Linked DNA regions of Homo sapiens: regions 1 and 3 are each linked to region 2. The links are contacts of gene promoters, found by promoter capture Hi-C in human tissues and cell types (Jung and others, 2019). All regions are on one chromosome and are shown on one strand. Each heading gives the region's core, a stretch centred on a gene start or on the middle of the fragment in contact. The rest is flanking DNA. Distances are from core to core; before and after follow the strand shown. Region 1 overlaps MGA (MAX dimerization protein MGA). Region 2 holds the start of SPTBN5 (spectrin beta, non-erythrocytic 5). Region 3 overlaps MGA (MAX dimerization protein MGA).

Region 1 (3,792 bases), core at 1,008-3,507, 140 kb after region 2:
TTCTGTGCCCCCTCAAAAAAAAAAAAAAAGTGTTTACTATGCCAGAAACATAGTAAATGAGCCCACCTCCCGGGATTCAAACGATTCTCCTGCTTCAGCCTCCCGAGTAGTTGGGACTCTAGGACTGTGCCACCACACCTGGCTAATTTGTGTATTGTTAGTAGAGATGGGGTTTCACCATGTTGGCCAGGCTGGTCTCAAACTCCTGACCTCAGGTGATCCGCCTGCCTCAGCCTCCCAAAGTGTTGGAATTACAGGCGAGAGCTACAGCGCCTGGCATAACTGCAGTATTTCTAAATAATATTCCAATAACTTCCACAAGGAAGATTTAAATTAAAGAAGCTATTTACAACTTCCCTCACAGTATTCCAATGCTAATCATAAAGGTAACGTAGGTGTGAGATGTGCAAATAAAAACAGTGTAGACTTTAGATTTTAGAGATCACTTAATATGACCTTTAAAAAAAAAGTCAGTATAACTTGTTTGCTTGTCAAATTCCCTATTAGTACATTCAAGCAATGCCTCCTTGTATGATTAAGATACTTCAGGCCGGAGGCAGTTGCTCATGCCTGTAATCCCAGCACTTTTGGGAGGCCAACGTGGGTGGATCACCTGAGGTCAGGAGTTCAAGACCAGCCTGGCCAATATGGTGAAACCCTGTCTTTACTAAAAAAATACAAAAATTAGCTGGGCATGGTGGTGCCCACCTGTAATCCCAAGCTACTCGGGAGGCTGAGGCAGAAGAATCGCTTGAACCGAGAAGGCAGAGGATGCAGTGAGCCGAGATGGCACCACTGCACTCCAGCCTGGGCGACAAAGCGAGACTCTGTTAAAAAAAAAAAAAAAAAAAAAAAAACTTTAAAGGTTCTATTATGTAAGTTCCACTAATAGTAATAGTTTTCACTGGTTTTAAAGTTGAACTGTTTTTTGGTCTCATGTTAACTTGGGCTGACTTACAGTGTGAGACTGCAAAAAACACAAAAAAATCAGCAATATAACTCCTAAAGTCAATGAATTTACATCCATTCTTGAAAAAGATTAGGCTATGGAGAGAAGGTATAAGTCAAATGAATACAGAATCATCCAATTTTAGAGCAAGATCCTCCTTTATAAATGAGACAATGGAGGTACTCAAATAACCAATATAAGAACATTAAGACCAGCCTGGCCAAGATGGTGAAACCCCATCTCTACGTAAATACAAAAATTAGCTGGGGCGGTGGCAGGCTCCTGTAATCTCAGCTACTCAGGAGGCTGAAGCAGGAGAATTGCTTGAGCCCCAGAGGTGGAGGTTGCAGTGAGCTGAGTTCGCACCACTGCACTCCAGCCTGGGCGACAGAGTAAGACTCCATCGCTAAAATAAAATATTTCAACATTTTAGATTTTTAAAACAGTAATCTTTTTGTCTTATTTTATGTGCATAAAGCAGTTAAGCAATAACAGAAAAGGACCAGATAACACAGAGGCAGAATGAATCTCAAGGAAGTGAGATTGTAAAACAAGCAGTTGTATGACAATCAGTGCAGACGGCTGTCATCTGCTCCTGAAAAGAAGGACACAGTTTAGATTTTAGGGCACTCCACAGGCAGCTGGTTATGATCTCCCCATGTTTTACATCAGACCTTATGTCAGGGGTCAGCAAACCACAGCCCACTAACAACTTCTTTTTTTTTTTTAACCCGAGACAGAGTTTTGTTCTTGTCGCCCAGGCTGGAGTGCAATGGCGCGATCTGGGCTCACTGCAACCTCAGCCTCCCGGGTTCAAGCGATTCTCCTGCCTCAGCGTTCTGAGTACTGGGATTACAGGCACCCATCACCACACCTGGCTAATTTTTTGTATTTTTAGTAGACACGGGGTTTTGTCATGTTGGCCAGACTAGTCTCAAACTCCTGACGTCAGGTGATCCACCCACCTCGGCCTCCCAAAGTGCTGGGATTATGGGTGTGAGCCACCGCACCTGGACTTTTTTACTAAAGTTTTAATGGAATACAGCTGCTTTTATACTACAACAGCAGTCAATTAGTCGCAACAGAGAGCCATCTAGCTCTCTGCAAAGTCTAAAACTATTTACTATCTGGCCTTTTACAGAAAACGTTTGTACAACTCCTGCACTGTATCAATACCTGACAGTTACTTATTTAAGTAAATACAACAACCCTAAATAGGAATCCTATAAAAAAAACTTCAGGAAAATAATAAAAATAGGCCATAAAGGTCATATTACAAAGGACGAAGACCAAAGTCTAGAATATAAATTCCAGAGACTAAATATTTAATTTTTGGATATAAAAGCAACTCAAGGCAAAATGGTACTAGAATATGATGGTATTTTCCAGTTTTTCTCCAAAAACAAAAACATCTCTCTATATGCAAGTGAATAAGTTCTCCTCTAGTTCTAAGGTCACCCATTCCCAGTTTCTGATTAACATCTACCAGAGAAGCTACAACCACCTCACATAGAAAACGTCATAGAAATTGACTGAGGTCAAATGGGAGTAGTGGTTTCGGGATTTTAAAAATCTAACTCGGTAGGGACTCTCAAGCACCTATCCCCCAAATATTTAAGCCAGCCTTCCCATAAAACCAGACAAGTCTCAAAGAATAAAAGCTCAATAAATGATGCTTGATTGACACAGCCTAAAGAACTACTAAGCCATTTAAGTCATAATCTTAAACCTAGGCATCCAATTAAATGTATTATGCCTTAGTGCTCTTCTGAAAAAGCTTCTGTCTTTAATAAATCATTTAAATCCTTTAGGTTTCAGTCACAACAAAAATGGGCTCACCACCTTTTCTACATCATCAACCTCCTCACTCTGGTAGTCAGAAACAACATCCACAATTTCATCAATAGAATCATCAGTTTTCTCATTATCATCTTCATCATCTTCTTCCAAATCCAAAACAGTGAAGTCAGCACTGCTTCTCCCACCCTTCTTCTCTTGCTTTGGTTGTATCTGTTCTCCAGGTAGCAGTAAGTGACCCTGAAAATGTCCATTCCCTCTGCTGCTTTTTGCAGCTCTCCTAGGAACAATGGAGAAGGCTGAAGGATTAGAAATCCTACTCCAAGAATCACATTCAGTTTTCAAAACTCTGGCATCTTCAGTAATTCCACTTTTTCCAAGTAAGTCAGAGATGCCTTGTTCTTGCTGAAACACATCTGAATTTTCCTGACATGTCTTTGTTTCTTTAATTAACTGCTCGTCTGCCTCTTTCTTACATTCCTGTGAAGCTCCAACACATTTCCTGGTTAAGGGGCCCTTCAGATGTTTTCTCCATCTTTCCCTGTCTTTCTCCAGAGAGTCTCCACATTCCTTCTCTTTGGCCTCTGGCTGTAGATTAGATTGCTGCTCCATAACTTTGCTTCCTGACAATTCAAATTTACTTTCTTCCTTAAAGGTGACTGGAAATTCACTTGAGTTTTCTTCTGGATTGTCAAATCCTTTCTGCTGTTCCACCTTCACATCACCAAGTTTTTGATGCTGTACTTTACTTAAATTTTGGACTGTCTTATTACTGGCTTTTTCAGAAATGGTCCTAACTTCCAGAACAGCCACTTTTTCTTTGGAACTCTTACGATTCCTAGCCCCATATTCTTCATTAACATCTTTATAATCTTGATCTGTATGTGACCCAGTGATACAGGAATGCTCAGATGGTTTGACAGTTGCACAACCTTCTTCTGGAAGGCATTCTTCATCCAAATGATCACCCCTATCTTCCAAGGAATCATTCAGAGTTTCTTCTGAGGTAGCAGCTCCTGAGTTTTGTTTTATTACATTAGCCTCAG
Region 2 (3,695 bases), core at 307-2,806:
ACACAGGACTCCATGGGCTGAGGGTCTTACTAGGAGAAGGAACAAGCTCAGTCTCCCTGGGGTAAGCGGGTGGGATGAGGGACTTCCTAGAAGAAACAGGATTTTAACTGGGGCAGGCAGGATAGGTGAATGTGGATGATGGAGAATGGGAAAGGACGTTCAAAGCTGAAAGAGCAGCTGAAGCCCAGCCTTGGGGCAGGAGAGCTCTGGTCCTGCTCAGGAAATGGTGAGTGGCCCATGGAGAGCACCCAGAGTGAGGGGGGCAGACTAGCCTGGTTAGGTAAGCTGGCAGGCTTCCAAGGCCTGGCTGAGGCAAGGTCTGGCAAGTCTGGATTTTCCTTCCCAGGCTGTGGGAGGCTTCACAGGCACGAGCAGAGCTGCACTGTGGAAAGGTGCGGGGTGGTGGTGTCCAGGATGCCGAGTTAGGGGGTCCGTGATGAGGACCCCCAGGGGCAGTGAGGGCAGAAGGGGGGGTGCACGGGAGGACCGCCACAGCAACTGCTGCGAGCAAGGGAGGGACGCAGGGTGTCTGGAAGCCAGCCGCTGCAGAAGGGGCCTGGCAGGGAGAGGACAGCAGGAGAGGAAGCGTCTCTCAGACGCAGGAAGCCGCACCCCACCCGAGACCACGGCACCTCTCAGCGTCACCCCTGACTGCCTGCAGTGGGCCCAGGCGGTTCAAGTGTGACTCATCCCTAGCCCAGCTCTCAAGGGCGCGCTGAGCGGCTGTCCTGCTGTGGGCTGTGGCTGCCAGGAGCGCCTCCCTGAGGAGCGGGCTGTCGCTTCAGAGGCTCCAGGGCCGCTGGAAGACACCCACACACACACACCCCAGCCCACACTGCTACCCTGAGTTTAGCCAGAGGCGGGTGAGACCCCCAGAATTAGAACTCGCCTTCACTCTGGCATGTAGTCCACGGCTGCTCGGGGAGGAAGGGATGGGCGCCCACCAGCTCCCTCTGCACCCCTGCCTCCGAGCCCCGGGCCACGGCCAGCTCTGTGGAGCCCAGAGTTAACACCGTGTCTCTAATTTTGGAGGAGACTCCACAGCCCTCGCAGTTCCAGGTCACCCCTTCCTCCAGGGAGCCTACCCTTCAGCCCCGGGCTAGGCAGGCTGCACTCTGGCAGGGCCTGGAAAGCCAAGCCCAGGGTCTGTGAGGCCCTCAGTCTATGGGCTGTTCCCTGGGGGTGAATGAGAAGACCACGGCCCAGGACGCTCCCTCATCCCCTCGCCCTGGGTGCTCACAGAGAGGCCCCAAGAGGGTACAGAGGGCAGTCTCAGATTGGGAAGTGCGTCCACAGGCTTCCCACAGAGGCTCTGCCCTTTGGTACCTCCTACGCAGACTGCAGCACCCCATGCGGTGGCAGGGCCGCTCCATGGGCCTCTGCGTCCTGGGAGCCAGGACCCCCACCTGGAGTTGGAGAAGTTGCTGGCGGGGAAGGGAGGATGATGAAGGAGGACATCATCTGGCAATGGCCCTGGAGCATTCCTGAACCACCCCCTCCCTGTCTGGGCCACGCCCTGTGGCAGGTGGGAGGACAATGCCGCCTGTGTGCCGTCACCCCAGCACGCTGGCTCAAGGGGAGGGCTGTGGTGCAGCCCTGCTCCAGCCTTGGCCTCTCCTGATGTCCCTCTCCCTCCCTCCACAGCCCCTGCTATCTGCCATCTCCATCCGTCCAGCTGGGCCGCCTCTGTGGAACCCAGGCATCACCAAGGTAAGCAGCCCCTGCTATCTACCATCTCCATCCGTCCAGCAGAGCCGTCTCTGTGGGACCCAGGCATCACCAAGGTAAGCAGTTTCCTGTCTTCCTTCCACCTGTCCCAGTCACTGTGGTGGAGGGACCTGGCAGCAGGGGCTCTGAGAAGAAGAATCTGGAAGGTGGGGTGGGGCAAAGGGGGCCCTGGGCCATTCAAGCACAGGGGACCAGAAGCACTGGCCCTTACCTGGCTGGGCTCCAAGCTGCAACCCCCATGAAATGTGAGGACAGTCTGGCAAGGCGGGACCCCAGGCCCCTGGTAGAGGGGCCATCTCCATTCACATCATCCCCTAATCTGCATGCCCTCCAGGTTTAGGGAGCCATCCAGCAGCTCCTCATCCCCAAAGTCTGCAGGGCTGATGGCTGGTCAGCCCCACAGTCCCCGGGAGCTCCTCGGGGCTGCAGGGCACCGCAGCAGGAGGCCCAGCACAGAACTCCGGGTCCCGCCCAGTCCAAGTCTCACCATGGACTCTCAGTACGAGACGGGCCACATTCGCAAGCTACAGGCCCGGCACATGCAGATGCAGGAGAAGACTTTCACCAAGTGGATCAATAACGTCTTCCAGTGCGGCCAGGTGAGTATAGCCAGCTGTGACCCACAGCCCACCCATACCAGGCCCCCAGCTCTGGCCAGTGGGCCTCCGGGGTGAGCTGTGGGGTCATCTGCCTGAGGCCAAGCTGAGGCCAGAGCTCCTTCTTCCAAAGCAGCTGCTCTGGGTCGTACCTCTCAGGTCCCAGGATGGGAGGACAGGTGAGGCTGGGCTGACCCCATACTTACCCCTGTCCCCTCCCCAGGCGGGCATCAAGATCCGGAACCTGTACACAGAGCTGGCTGACGGCATCCACCTCCTGCGGCTGCTGGAGCTCATCTCAGGGGAGGCCCTGCCACCCCCGAGCCGGGGCCGCCTGCGTGTGCACTTCCTGGAGAACAGCAGCCGAGCTCTGGCCTTCCTCAGGGCCAAGGTGGGCCCCAGGGAAAGGGGTCTGGGATGGTGCTGGGGCAGGCAGCTGGGACAGGCTGAACTACTGGGTCACCTTTCCTGCGCCAGGCCACTGGGCAGAACAGAGGAGCTGGGGCCTGAGTACAGGAGGAGTGGCTGGGACACAGAGGAGCAGAAGCCACGCCCTCCTCGCACAGCACCCCTGACTTGGAGAGCACCCAGCTGGCCATGGCAGTAGCAATCCAGGTCCCTACTGGGGTGGAAAATGTCACTGTCTGTCATAAGAGAGACTCACAGGATTCTAGGCCAAAAGAATCTTAGCGTTCTCTTAGGCTTTTCATTTCACAGATGAGGAAACAGAGGCCCTGAATTATTTACCAGGCAAGATCGATGGTTAACCAGCCAACAGAGCCCAGATGTGGGACTAAGACGGCAGGTGGGGAAGAGGAGCAGGGCCTGTCTTGGAGAAGGAGGGAGGAGGCCTCAGCAAATGGGGGGAGGCAGAGTCACCTGAAAGAAAGGGACAGGCTAAGGAGATGGGCACTAAAAGGAGGCCGGAGCTCCAGGGACAGAGGGACCCTCATGGCCAGGGTGAGGGGCTGGTGCAGGGGTGGGGTGGGGCAAAGGGATCATTGGAAACCGGGAACTGTGAAGGCCAAGGGCTCCTGGAGGTGGCTGTCCCTGGAGGCTGTGAAGTCACTGAGCTGGGCCTGGCTGGATGGAGCCTGACTGTGCGTGCCTATCACTATATCCTGGAGTGGAGCTTACATCCAGCCTCCTGGGGTGTGTTGGAGGAAAGCCAGGGAGGGGAGAAGCCCAAGCAAAGGGAATGGGAGTGACTGCTGTCCTGAGCAGGTGCAAGAGCAGAACGCTGCCAGCTGCAGAATGCTGGGCCCTAGTTGATCCAGGGACAATGACCCTGTGAGCCAGTCATCTCCCCTCCAGGAACTGGGGAAGGGTGTAAGCCCCACAGCCTTTGTCAGAGGTGTTGCAGCTCTCCCC
Region 3 (3,387 bases), core at 487-2,986, 160 kb after region 2:
AAGAATAAACAGGAGGGTTCTTCTCACCCCGGCTCTTTCGCTGAGAAGCCAACTCAATGATGAAGCTGCCCACCTTAAGTGATTGTGGCATGTTGCTATTGATGTGCTGGGATAAGATGCTCAAAATCTTGTTCCGATCTTCCTCCCAGTTGCAGTCTGAGATGATCTCAATCAGTTTGGTGGGACCACCAGGTGACCTCTGATGCATATAAGAAGTAGAAGAGGATTCTCCTTCATTGCAGGAAGACTTCCAGCTCTTTTCTGATGTAAAATAATAATAAAAAAGAAAAAGTTGAAAGATTATTTCTGCATCACAGCATTTTGTATGAAACTCTGAAAAAAAACTGTCACATTCTCACGTTCTTTCACAGTAGTAACTTAAAATGTATCAACTTTCACAATTTGGGAGTTTTCCAGGAAGAAAAAGTTCCAGAGAATAAGACTACAATAGTCCTCATTATCCTGCTGACTGGGCTCTAACAGGTAGTTCCCTTAACACTACTCTAAATGCCACAATTATTACATTAGAGTTAGCTTGCAAACAAACCATGACCTACAACCAAGGTTAAGCTTCACTGGTATAGGTTACTATTTTGCTATACATACAGGCAAAGTGAAACTACTTGCTAGATGCTTTGAAACATGTACAGATTAGAGTCAATCCAAAAGAACAGCAAGAAAAATAGTATTCTGATTTTTTTTTTTTTTTGAGACGGAGTCTAGCTCTGTCGCCAGGCTGGAGTGCAGAGGCGTGATAGCTCACTGCAACCTCTGCCTCCCAGGTTCAAGTGGTTCTCCTGCCTCAGCCTCCCGAGTAGCTGAGATTATGGACGCGTGCCACCACGCCCAGTTAATTTTTGTATTTTTACTAGAGACGGGGTTTCACCATGTTGGCCAGGATGGTCTTGGATCTCTTGACCTCATGATCCACCCGCCTCGGCCTCCCAAAGTGCTGGGATTACAGGCGTGAGCCACTGCGCCCAGCTGTAGTATTCTGATTTTAAGTGCACTCTAACTCTAATTTCTACTGCAAATACCTCTGAATTACTTCTGTGCTTCTAGATATGATTGCTCCATTTCTACACTGTTTGCAGATCACTCAACTACCCAAAGTATTCTTTCCATGGCAACATGTTGACTAGACATGTATTTCACTAGACTCCTGGATTTCTTTAGCACAGCTTCCCAATGAGTGTACTGGTATGTCAAGGGCCCCCATAATCCTCAGGGTGCTCACGCTCTCAGGCAGGTTCCCTCCACCCTAGTAGCCTCCTCCACTTACCGCAATGTGCTATAGAAACATTGTTAATTATTTGTATGTACCATGACGTTTTTTAAGAAGTTAGGAAGCCCTGCTGCTTAAGTGTCAGAAGTCTCGGGAAGCATAACCAAAAACAAATTGGTAACCACCTGACCACTACCTGTCATCAAAGTAATTCTGACAGTAGCCTCTGCCAGCTAAATCACAGTAATATTCCTTCCTTTCTCCTTCTAGATTTCCCCAGAGGTGGCAGTGATGGAGGACCAAAGGCTAATGATGCCAATATTACTGGGGTTTGGAAAGAGGTTAAAAAAAAAAAAACTCACTGACCTCAACCTAAATGTCTCTTGCAACAACATGCTTTATCAACATGAATGAATTTTCTTTTATTTTTGAGAGCAGGAGTGTTAACAGACCAAATAATGGGGAAAAAAAACTTTTACTTATTGTCCCTGTTTTTGGCATAAGTTTGAAACAGGGTAGGCAGACATATTCTGAATTGATGGTTTGGGTTTTCTCCCATTATTACTATAATCTAGACCTAAATAATTTTTATCAAATGTTAAGATCTAGTTTTCATTCTGACCTTGTAATTTATCAGAATCATCCTCCAAGTCACAGGTGAGTTGTTTTAAGGGCTGCTGTTCAGAATCAGGTTCCTGAAGGAGACAGTAACACAGAAATACTTTAACTTAACATATATTCAATACCCACAGAAACTTGGACACAAGCATTAAATCTCTCACAGAAGTTTAAATCATTAGAATGACTGAAATGTCAACAGCTTCAATCCACATGCACATCTACGTTACTATCATATAAAACCCTGGGTAAAAACACATAGTTTTGCTACCTAATGTCCTTGATAGTGACTGAGTCATCAAGAAAAAAATTCACATTGTACTTTAAAGAGGGAAACATATTTACTGTTAAATGAAACAAACTACAGTTATTCAGAAAATTCACCAGTTGAGGCCAGTCTCGGTGGCTCATGCCTGCAATCCCAGCATTCCGAGAGGCCGAGGTGGGAAGATCACTTGAGCCCAGGAGTTCAAACCAGCCTGGCCAACAAGGCAAAACCCCATCTATACCAAAAATACAAAAGCTTAGCCACAAATGGTGGCACACACCTATAGTCCCAGTTGGTTGGGAGGCTGAGACAGAAGGATCGCTTGAGCTGAAGGTTGCAGTGAGCCGAGACCATGCCACTGCACTTCAGCCTGGGTGACAGAGTGAGGCCCTATCTCGAAAAAAAAAAGAAAGAAACAAAATTTGCCAATGTGGAAAGATGCACACCCTAATAATTACAGACAAATTAATAAAACTAGAATTTTTAAAATTACTCCAGGATCAGAAAGAATAATACTTTTTAATTTATCAAATCCTCTATTAACAGGCATTCTGCCTCCAATTTCTCATTAGTAAGGGCAATAGTGCACTGAACAGCTATATATATGCGTATGTTTGAGTAAACATACATACATGCACATATCTTTGTGCCCTCATGCTATGTACACTTACAATTTAGGGTCAAAAAGATATGCACATTTAAATTTTTTTGTTTTTGTCATTAACAAATTGCTGTTTAAAAGAAAACTGCTGATTTATACCTTTAGTGGTTTTCCGGGGAGTCACCACTGATGTTGAGGTGGCAGTACAAGCGAAGGTGGAGCCCCCAGCCATCAGCTGAACCATGGAAAGGGAAGAGGTGTAGCCTAACTACAAGGGTAACTGGAATCAGAACTTATTATTTAAATTATCTGTGAATGTGTGCCTCAGTTTCTCATATAATCCTCCATGGGTTGGACAGACTGCCACCTAGACTCTTTTATCATTCCACTTTCACTAATCAGGAGAGACTGCCCTCTTTCCTTAGTTCCAATTTTTTTTTTAAGTGAAAGCAAGTTAAGAAAGTAGAGGAACAGGCTGGATGTTGTGGCTCACGCCTGTAATCCAGCACTTTGGGAGGCCGAGGTGGGTGGATCACCTGAGGTCAGAAGTTCAAGATCAGCCTGGCCAACATGGTAAAACCCCGTCTCAACTAAAGCATAGAAATTAGCCGGGCATGGTGGCACCCGCCCGTAATGCCAGCTACTCGGGAGACTGAGATGGGAGAATCACTTGAA

What was found. The method cuts DNA at HindIII sites, captures the fragments that hold promoters and counts their contacts. A contact is called where the count stands out against the background at its distance.
Region 1: a fragment that was not itself captured here is called in contact with the fragment with the promoter of SPTBN5 in region 2 in 3 of the 25 tissues and cell types used here (bladder, dorsolateral prefrontal cortex and spleen).
Region 3: a contact is called between a fragment that was not itself captured here and the fragment with the promoter of SPTBN5 in region 2, in 4 of the 25 tissues and cell types used here (H1 embryonic stem cells, dorsolateral prefrontal cortex, mesendoderm cells and 1 more).

Annotation. Positions count from the first base shown.
Region 1 is chr15:41,749,615-41,753,406 of GRCh38, reverse strand. It overlaps MGA (MAX dimerization protein MGA), which reads right to left. Exons shown (of 24, transcript NM_001400225.1): 17 at 2,792-3,792. Among named protein-coding and RNA genes, the nearest start is that of MAPKBP1, 23 kb to the left of the region's middle. The HindIII fragment of the contact is 7,681 bases long and covers 1-3,792 here.
Region 2 is chr15:41,891,914-41,895,608 of GRCh38, reverse strand. SPTBN5 (spectrin beta, non-erythrocytic 5) reads left to right here and starts at 1,556. Exons shown (of 68, transcript NM_016642.4): 1 at 1,556-1,710; 2 at 2,063-2,327; 3 at 2,548-2,715. The coding sequence starts at 2,112. LOC105370792 (a long non-coding RNA gene) reads right to left here and starts at 2,832. Exons shown (of 4, transcript NR_135681.1): 1 at 2,531-2,832; 2 at 273-382; 3 at 1-29. RefSeq lists an enhancer at 2,712-2,771. The HindIII fragment of the contact is 14,752 bases long and covers 1-3,695 here.
Region 3 is chr15:41,733,055-41,736,441 of GRCh38, reverse strand. It overlaps MGA (MAX dimerization protein MGA), which reads right to left. Exons shown (of 24, transcript NM_001400225.1): 12 at 1,848-1,920; 13 at 1-261. Among named protein-coding and RNA genes, the nearest start is that of MAPKBP1, 40 kb to the left of the region's middle. The HindIII fragment of the contact is 3,107 bases long and covers 183-3,289 here.